Regions from separate parts of the Homo sapiens genome. Here region 1 is linked to region 2. Evidence: promoter capture Hi-C in human tissues and cell types (Jung and others, 2019). All regions are on one chromosome and are shown on one strand. The core of a region is centred on a gene start or on the middle of the fragment in contact, and the rest is flanking DNA. Distances in the headings are between cores, read along the strand shown.

Region 1 (4,999 bases), core at 380-2,879, 250 kb after region 2:
TAGTCTGCTTTTCTTACAAGCTTGCGGGTGTCTGTGCTCATAGTCTGCTTTTCTTACAAGCTTGCGGGTGTCTGTGCTCATAGTCTGCTTTTCTTACAAGCTTGCGGGTGTCTGTGCTCATAGTCTGCTTTTCTTACAAGCTTGCGGGTGTCTGCTCATAGTCTGCTTTTCTTACAAGCTTGCGGGTGTCTGTGCTCATAGTCTGCTTTTCTTACAAGCTTGCGGGTGTCTGTGTGCTGGCCCAGAGGCTCACTGTTGGCAGTTTTGACTATGGAAGTACTCACAGCCGTCTCAGGGTGGGGCTTGGGGTTCGTAGTGGCGAGGCGCATTTCTGTTGTCTGGCGGGAAAGTCCTTGGCCAGCGAGAGGACACTGCGGGTGAGCTGCCAAGGACACGCAGGCCTCTGTAGCTCCTCTGTTTGAGGTTAGGATTTCTCCGGAAGGCGTGGTATCACTGAGCTTCAGGGAAGTGTTAATGAATTTGGGCCCTTGCGGTTTGTAGGCACTTATTCCTCATAAATGTCAGAGGACAGTCATATAAATGAACATATTTAATGACTGATTCCGTAAATATGGTAATGAATAACACTACCAATTTAGGAAGGAAATCTTTTTTTTTGAGAGATGGGGTCTTGCTCTGTCACTCAGGCTAGAGTGCAGTGATGCAGTCAGCTCACTGCAGCCTCGAACTCTTGGTCTCAAATGATTCTCCCTCCTGCCTCATCCTCTCAGACTACAGGCATGTGCCACCATCCTGTCTAATTTTTAATTTTTTATGTTGCCCAGGCTAGTCTCCAACTCTTGGTCTCAAGCTATTCTTTTGCCTCGGCCTCCCAAAGTGCTGGGATTACGGGTGTGAGCCATCGCTCTTGGCCATGGGTAGCTTTCTTGGGGTGACTACGGTCTTACTAAATTGTGTCACTGTAATGTCACAGAATTCTCTTTGATCAGTGGGTCGCGTAGCTGGTGATTTTTGATGAAAGGGTAGAAAGGCAATTTTGCTGCTCTCTGTATTTTTAAATGTTATAATTCAGCATCTCTTTATTTGATAGGTTCGAGGCTATAAAACATTTCTTCGTTTATTTCCTCATGAAGTTGCCGATGTAGAGCCTGTTTTAGATTTGGTCACAATTCAGAATCCCAAGGACCATGAAGTGAGTGTCTCTGCCTCCCCCCTCGTCTCCAGCCCTCCGTGCCTGTCCTTCCTCCCTGCTTGCCCCACCCTGCTGCACCTTCCCCTTCCTGTTTCTTTCATTTTATCTCCCTTTGTTTTGTGTCACTCCTCTTTTCTTTCTTTTCTTTTCACTTTTCCTTTACTTCTTGTACAAGTTGCTTTAAATTATTTTCGTTTAAAATAGCCCCTTTATAAAAAAAATTATGCCTAGGTGTAGTTTAACAATAAATCCGTCATTGTTTCTATGTTTTTTTAACTGTGTAAGTATAACTGTGTTGGGTTCCCAAGACCACCCCCAGGTTTGATACTTCCTGAGCGGGACTCACAGCACTCAGCATAGAGTCCTCCTTTTGGCTGTCACTTGTTATGGCAAAATAATACACAGCAAAATCAGCAAAGGGAAAAGGCACATGGGTGGGGTCTGGGGAGAACCAGGCGGGAGCTCCCGGGGTCCTCCAGTTGGGTCCCACAGGGCCTGTGTCATTCCCCCAGCAGTGAGATGTGACCACACCTGTGAGGTGTCTATCAGAGAAGCACGTTTGAGACTTGGTGCCCAGAGCTTTCACTGGGGTCTGGCCACATGGACACCTCTGCCTGGCACGAAACGAAATTCCAGACCCCCAGCAGGAAAGCAGGTGCCAGCGTAAAGCACACGGTTTGTGCAGATTGAGCCAGCGAGGGACCTCATCAGGCAGGGCTTGGTGGGAACCCTGCTGGTGTCCAGGTCCCTGGATACCAGCCCAGGGCCGGCCTCGTCAGGGGCCTTGCCTCAGACGGCAGCGGGGCCTGCTATGCTCGCTGTCTTCTGCGTGGTATGTATTTGGAGGAGCACACGGTTTATAACCGTGCAGTGCGGTGGCTTGTCTCGGCGTGGATGTGACTGATGAGCGCTGTGGGGCATTTCCCTGCTGCCCTGCACTCCGTGCCCTTCTTTCCCTAGTACTTCTAGCGCCCCCCAGTGGAATGATTGCAGGGACAAATTGGGATGTTTTTTACTAATTACTGAAAATAAGGGTACTCCTTTTTTATTAGAAGTTGATAATTGTTTTCTTTATTCTTTTTTTTTTAAAAAGACAGAGTTTCACTCTTCTTGCCCAGGTTGGAGAGCAATGGCACAATCTTGGCTCACTGCAACCTCTGTCTCCCAGGTTCAAGCGATTCTCCTGTGTCAGCCTCCTGAGTAGCTGGGATTACAGGCATGTGTCATCACGCCAGGGTAATTTTGTATTTTTAGTAGAAACAGGGTTTCTCCATGTTGGTCAGGCTGGTTTAGGACTCTTGACCTCGGCCAGGCACGGTGGCTCGTGCCTGTAATCCCAGCAGTTTGGGAGGCCAAGGTGGGCGGATCACGAGGTCAGGAGATCGAGACCATCCTGGCTAACACGGTGCAACCCTGTGTCTACAAAAAATACAAAAATTAGCCTAGCATGGTGGCAAACGCCTGTAGTCCCAGCTACTCAGAAGGCTGAGGCAGGAGAATGGCGTGAACCCGGAAGGTGGAGCTTGCAGTGAGCGAGGTTGCGCCACTGCACTCCAGCCTGGGCAACAGAGCGAGACTCCATCTCAAAAAAAAAAAAAGGAACTCCTGACCTCAGGTGATCCGCTCGTCTCGGCCTCCCAAAGTGTTGGGATTACAGGTGTGAACCACCACACCTGGCCTTTTTTCTTTATTCTTAGGTGTTTTTACTTTTTATCTGTTTTTCACTTTTTCAAAAGGCCAGTTTGTATGTGGAGAGGTGCCAGCGAAGAGAAGCTGCTATACTGATGTATTATGATTTTTCTTTGTTCATTTTGATGTCTCTCTTGTCTGCTGAGCTAAGTTACGGCGGTAGGTGTGTGTGGTGGGGATTCCGGGGGGGATGTGGCGAGGAGTTGGTGAACGGCTTGCATTTCTGGCCCTGAGGGTGATGGCATTTGAATGGCTTTCATAGGCATTGGGTGGGCATGGAGGGCAGTGACTTTGAGTAGATTGTGGCCAGTGGCCTGTGATTTTCAAGCAAGACTCATTCTTCCCGTGGTTTAATTTTTTAGGCTTGGGAAACCCGCTACATGCTTTTGCTCTGGCTCTCCGTGACCTGCCTGATCCCTTTTGATTTTTCTCGCCTTGACGGGAACCTCCTCACCCAGCCTGGGCAAGCACGAATGTCCATAATGGACCGTATTCTCCAAATAGCAGAGGTAAATATCATGCAGATAATTAGCTGCTAATTAGTACTCACTTTCATGTTCATGCTGTCTTGATGTTAGTGGTTTACTCGGTAAGCTTCTGATATGTATTCAACTGCTGTTTTTTTCAGTGGGGTAAAATCCCATAGGATAACTTATTTTGAAATTGTGATAATTCATGTAGGGGTCAGGTTGAGTTAGCAAATCTCATTTCTTTGTAGATGATGCAAATACTCTGTTGAGGGTAATCATGGCAGATAAGGAAGGGTTTAGTGGCATGGTGAGAGAGAATAAGGACCCATTTTACATTTAGTTCTTAACGTTATATAAATAATAGATGCTCATTTGTAGGAGAACTAGAAAATAAAGATAAGCAAGAAAAATACTAAATTTAAATTTATGAAATTCTAGTGCCAAGAGATAAGTTGTTTATTTTCTCCGAACTTTTCCTGATGTAAATATTATGCATATAAACACAGCTTATTGTATTAGTTATCTATTGGATCATAACTAATTACCCCAAACTTGAGTGTTTGACACACATTTATCCTCTTGTAGTTTCTGTGGGTCGGGAGTCTGGCATGGCTGAGCTGGGTCCTTTGTGTCAAGCTTGCCCACAGCTGCAGTTAAAACTCGACATGGGCAGGCTTTGCCCCAAGGCCGTTGGATTGAGGCCACCCTCAGTTCTTTGCCACCTGGGCCCCTCCAACTTAGTGACTTATTCCATCAAAGCCTGCAAGGGAGAAACTCTGCTAATGAGATGGAAGTCATGATAATATGTTACCTGATCATGGAAGTGACGTCCCATTCCTCTGCCAGATCCTGTGGTTAGCAGCAAGTCACCGAGTCCAGCCTACGCAAGCGAGCACTAGGAGGCTGTCAGGCTCTGAGCCATCTCAGTTGTCTCGGTCTTCCTGCCACGCTGACTGCGACAGCCCTGGTCAGCATTCACTGAGTGCCTGCTGTGTGCCTGGCACCGTTCAAACACTCATAGATTAATCTTTAATCACTTATGGATTAATAATTTAACCTATACATTGGGCTGGGCATGGTGGGTCACTCCTGTAATCCCAGCACTTTGGGAGGCCGGGGCGGGCAGATCACGTGAGGTTAGGACTTCGAGACCAGCCTGGCCAACATGGTGAAACCCTGTGTCTACTAAAAATACAAAAATTAGCTGGGCCTGGTGACACATACCTGTAATCCCAGCTACTCAAGAGGCTGAGGCAGAAGAATCCCTTGAACCTGGGAGGTGGAGATTGTAGTGAACTGAGATTACGCCACTGCACTCCAGCCTGGGTGACAGAGCGAGAGTCCATCTCAAAAAAAAAAAAAAAAAAATTTAACCTATACGTTGATGATTGATAGATCATCAGTGATTAATTAACTGTGATTAATAATCATTGAATTCTCCTTCATGAGGCTGTTGACAATTCTTACCCTCGTTTAACCGAGAAGGCAACAGGCATAAAAATTAATAACTTAGTTTACTTTGCTCATAAATGGTGGATCCATGTTTGAATCCAGGCGGTTTATCTGGAGTCTGTGCTCTTCATCAGGGCTCAGCATTGCCCCATGACCTGCTGTTCTGAGTCCTTTTTACCCTCAGCAACACGTTCTTAGTGTCTTACGATGTCAGAAAGTGTCCCCCTCATAATCG
Region 2 (4,752 bases), core at 15-2,514:
TCATTGATTAGTGAACATCTGGACTATTGATCATCTTGATTTAGATGGGATCTTGTAATTTTTTAAACGGTGGCGAAATTCTTTTTTTAAAAACTTAGTATCAGATTGGTTAAGATATTAACTATTCGTTCATGAGAGTTCATATATATATAGTTCATATATATATAGTTCATATATGTATATAGTTCATATATATAGTTCATATATATATAGTTCATATATATATAGTTCATATATATATATATAGTTCACATATATATAGTTCATATATATACATATGAGACGTAGTTTCACTCTTGTTGCCCAGACTGAAGTGCAGTGACGCGATCTCGGCTTACTGCAACCTCCACCTCCCAGGTTGAAGCAATTCTCCTGCCTCCGCCTCCCAGGTTTAAGCAATTCTCCTGCCTCAGCCTCCTGAGTAGCTAGGACTACAGGTGTGCACCACCACACCCGGCTATTTTTTTTTTTTTTTTTGTATTTTTAGTAGAGCTGGGATTTCACCATGTTGGCTAGGCTGGTCTCGAACTCCTGACCTCAGGTGATCCGCTCGCCTCGGCCTCCCAAAGTGCTGGGCTTACAGGCGTGAGCCACCGCGCCCGGCCTCGTGTATATTTTTAAACTGTGTGCTGACGACAGTTAAGTAAATGTGATTCAGAACTTCTGCGTATTTTGCAGGACAGTTTTGACACAATGACATGACTCGCTAGCCAGGAAAGATAACGACATCCAGTCCTGGAGCTGCTGGTTAAAAACGAACGTGTCACCGGGTCCCCTGGGTCTGAGGCCACGCGGCACGCGGCCCCTCCGCGATATTCCCGCACCTCGCGGGGAAAAGGCCGCTCGGCGGCCGGGCCTGGGCTCGCGGGCCGCCGCCTATCCGCACCCCGGCGTCCACGCCGGGTTGGGGGCCGCTGCGTGCCTGGCGCCCGCTGTGACCTTGGGCCTGGTCCCGCCCGCCGCGCCTAAGGCGCTGCCAGGCCGGGCTCAGACCCCCGAGCTCCCGCGCCCGCGCCAACCCCGCGCCAGCCCCGATCCCGCGCGGGCTGCCGACTGTCCGCCCCGGGTTTTCCGCGGCGCCCGGAGTCGGGACTGCGTCGGGCGTCGCCGCCGGACGTGCCGGCAGCTTGGTGCGACGTGTCTTGCCATTGGCCTGCTTCGGTAGCCCCACTGCCGTACGCCGCCCCCATTGGCCGGCGTAACCGTCCGTCAGCGAGGGGCGGGCCCGGCGTGCCGGCTCGGTGGCGCGGCCGCGCGTGCTCCCGCCCCTCGCCGCCGCTCGCTCGCTCGCCGGCCGGCGGCCTCCGCTCGGCCCCCTCCCTCAGCTCCGGTGCGCGGCGGCCGACGACCCGCGCGGCCTGGGCCTCGGCCCGCGCCACCGGCGCCCGCGCGGAGCGGCCCGGGGGCCCTCACGCAGGCCCATGGCGGCGGCCGCGGCGGCGCTCTCGGGCGCGGGCACGCCACCCGCGGGCGGCGGGGCCGGGGGCGGCGGGGCCGGGGGCGGCGGGTCCCCGCCGGGCGGCTGGGCCGTGGCGCGCCTGGAGGGCCGCGAGTTCGAGTATCTGATGAAGAAGCGCTCGGTGACCATCGGCCGCAACTCGTCGCAGGGCTCGGTGGACGTGAGCATGGGCCACTCGAGCTTCATCTCCCGGCGCCACCTCGAGATCTTCACGCCCCCGGGCGGCGGCGGCCATGGCGGGGCCGCTCCGGAGCTGCCGCCCGCGCAGCCCAGGCCCGACGCCGGCGGCGACTTCTACCTGCGCTGCTTGGGCAAGAACGGGGTATTCGTGGACGGCGTGTTCCAGAGGCGCGGGGCGCCGCCGCTGCAGCTGCCGCGCGTGTGAGTGGCCTCGGGGCGGGGCGGGCGGGGTCTGCGGCCTGCAGCGCCTGGCAGGACGGGACGGGACACGCGCCCAGGCCCGGGACCACCCACGAGCGGGGGCCCGACTCTCCCACAGCCGGGACCACCAGCGGGACCCAGGCCCCGGCTGGATCCCAACCCTCGACAGCCCCTGGCCCCGACCCCCGTCCTCCCGGTCCCCTTCCTGGCAGGTGCAGCCCCCCGTCTTTCCCCCTTCCTGGAGCCGGGGCTGCGGGCGGCTGCGCGCGCGGGTCAAGGTTTCTGGGTTCTGTGCGTGCGGGGAGTTCACGTGTGCTGTTTCTATTCTGCAGCGAGGTCGCGCTGAACAGAAATGTGAAAACGGTGTGCGGTGGGAGGAACTGCCCCGAACTAAAATCTATGTCTCTTAACCGATGAAGGGTTGTCTGTTGTCTTTTGTTGTTGTTGTTGTTCAGTCGTTTTCAGTAGTGAGCTGTTTCAAGAGTGCGGTGTTTTAAGCAGGAAGGACTCCTTTTTCCCTGCCGTGTTTTCAGTAGGCCAAATTGGAAGACGCTTCAAGCATGATGGATTTTCAATCTGTGCTCTGAACCTTAAAATTTAGGGAAAACTAGATGCTTTTCGCATAACTTCTACAAAAAGACAGTTGATTAGGAATTATTACAAGGTCATGTAGAGTGTTAAGTCAGCCTGATAGGGAACTGCCTATCCTGCTACAAAACAATTTAGCTTGGTCCTGTGGTTTTATGAAGTTATCGTTTACTCTGCTTGAAACACAAACTTGCTGTCTAGGAAATGCTAATTATTCCTCAGGGGCTCACTTCTAGATCATTGCAAGTACAGCCTTTGTCCACACAAACTGGAATTTTTTTGTTTTTTGTTTTTTGAGACGGAGGCTCACTTTGTCGCTCAGGCTGGAGTGTAGTGGCGCGATCTTGGCTCACTGCAATCTCCGCCCTTTGAGTTCAAGTGGTTCTCCTGCCCCAGCCTCCCGAGTAGCTGGGATTACAGGCGCCTGCCACCGCGCCCGGCTAATTTTTTGTATTTTTAGTAGAGACGGGGTTTCACCATCTTGGCCAGGCTGGTATTGAACTCCTGACCTCGTGATCCACCCGCCTCGGCCTCCCAAAGTGCTGGGATTACAGGCGTGAGCCACCGCGCCCGGCCTACAAATTGGAATTTTTAACGCTTTCGGTTGTTGGAGATGCTGGTAAGAGCTGTTGCTTTTCTTCTTGACTTGCGTGTTGTGTGTGTGTGCATGCGCTGTTCTGTTTCTTAGCATGGAAAGGTGCACCAGCATATTCCTTAAACTTTGGTAGTAGCATTTTAAAGAATGTTATTTTCAGGCCGGGCGCGGTGGCTCACGCCTGTAATCCCAGCACTTTGGGAGGCCGAGGCGGGTGGATCACGAGGTCAGGAGGTCGAGACCATTCTGGCTAACACGGTGAAACCCGTCTCTACTAAAAATACAAAAAAAAAAAAAAAATTAGCCGGGCGCGGTGGCGGGCGCCTGTAGTCCCAGCTACTCAGGAGGCTGAGGCAGGAGAATGTGAACCCTGGAGGTGGAGCTTGCAGCCAGCGAGATCGCACCACTGCACTCCAGCCTGGGGGACAGAGGAAGACTCCGCCTCAAAAAAAAAAAAGAAATTTTCAAATGAAAATGCTATTTATGTGTGTTTATACTGTAGACGGTATGAAATCAATGGTAGGGTCCTAATGGCTACCCTTTAATCTGACTTTTTTTTTTTTTTTTTTTTTTTTACAAAATACTGTGTCACAACAAAGGAAGTTTGCGTCTACTGTGAGGATCTTGAGTTTTTGTTTGTTTGTTTTTGATTTTGAGACACGGTCTCTGTGACCTAGCCTGGAGTGTACTGGTATGATGACAGCTCACTGCAGCCTCAAACTTCTGGGCACAAGCGATCCTCCTGCCCCAGTGCTCAGGAGTTTGAAGTTGCTGTGAGCTATGATTGCACCACTGCATTCCAGGCTGGGATTACAGGTGTGAGCTATGATCTCACCACTCCTCCCACATACCTGGCCAAGATTTTGAGTTTTTTGGAATTTTTTTTTTTTTTTCCTGAGACGGAGCCTTGCTCTGTCCCCCAGGCTGGAGTGCAGTGGCGCAATCTCGGCTCACTGCAAGCTATGCCTCCCGGGTTCACATCATTCTCCTGCCTCAGCCTCCCGAGTAGCTGAGACTACAGGCACCCGCCACTACGCCCAGCTAATTTTTTTTTGTATTTTTAGTAGAGACGGGGTTTCACCATGCTAGCCAGGATGGTCTCGATCTCCTGACCTCATGATCTGCCCGCCTCGGCCTCCCAAAGTGCTGCGATTACAGGCATGAGCCACTGTGCCTGGCCCGATTTTGAGTTTTTAAAGAAAATTCTCCTCACCATTCAGCCAGAACGATTTGTATTGAATTGAATTCTGCACATGCTAACATGATAAACATGGAGATAAGTTGACCTTTCAGTGAGGGCCAGAATTCAGACCTTATTTTTTTGAGACGGAGTCTCGCTCTGTTGCCAGGCTGGAGTACAATGGCGTGATCTTGGCTTGCTGCAACCTCCGCCTCCCTGGTTCAAGCAATTCTTGTGCCTCAGCCTCCTGAGTAGCTGGGATTACAGGCACACGCCACCACACCCAGCTAATTTTTGTATTTTTAGTAGAGATGGGGTTTTACCATGTTGGCCAGGATGGTCTTGATCTCCTGACCTCGTGATCCACCCGCCTTGGCCTCCCAAAGTGCTGGGATTACAGCTGTGAGCCACCACGCCTGGCCGAATTCAGACCTTTTGAACAGTAGGAATGAGTCTTGCAGTAGAGATGAGTAAGAAGGGCAGTGAGATGGAGGCTGGGCCTCCCACTTGTGCTCAGGGAAGAGTCTTGTGGCCACCGAGGTGAACATG

What was found. Contacts are between HindIII fragments. The study calls those that stand out against the background at their distance.
Region 1: a fragment that was not itself captured here is called in contact with the fragment with the promoter of FOXK2 in region 2 in 2 of the 25 tissues and cell types used here (dorsolateral prefrontal cortex and lymphoblastoid cells).

What each region holds. Positions count from the first base shown.
Region 1 is chr17:82,765,216-82,770,214 of GRCh38, forward strand. TBCD (tubulin folding cofactor D) reads left to right here. Exons shown (of 39, transcript NM_005993.5): 4 at 1,052-1,153; 5 at 3,205-3,351. Among named protein-coding and RNA genes, the nearest start is that of TBCD, 16 kb to the left of the region's middle. The HindIII fragment of the contact is 4,126 bases long and covers 1-3,692 here.
Region 2 is chr17:82,518,468-82,523,219 of GRCh38, forward strand. FOXK2 (forkhead box K2) reads left to right here and starts at 1,265. Exons shown (of 9, transcript NM_004514.4): 1 at 1,265-1,840. The coding sequence starts at 1,422. RefSeq lists silencers at 685-1,344, 1,795-1,974, 2,055-2,104. The HindIII fragment of the contact is 19,651 bases long and covers 1-4,752 here.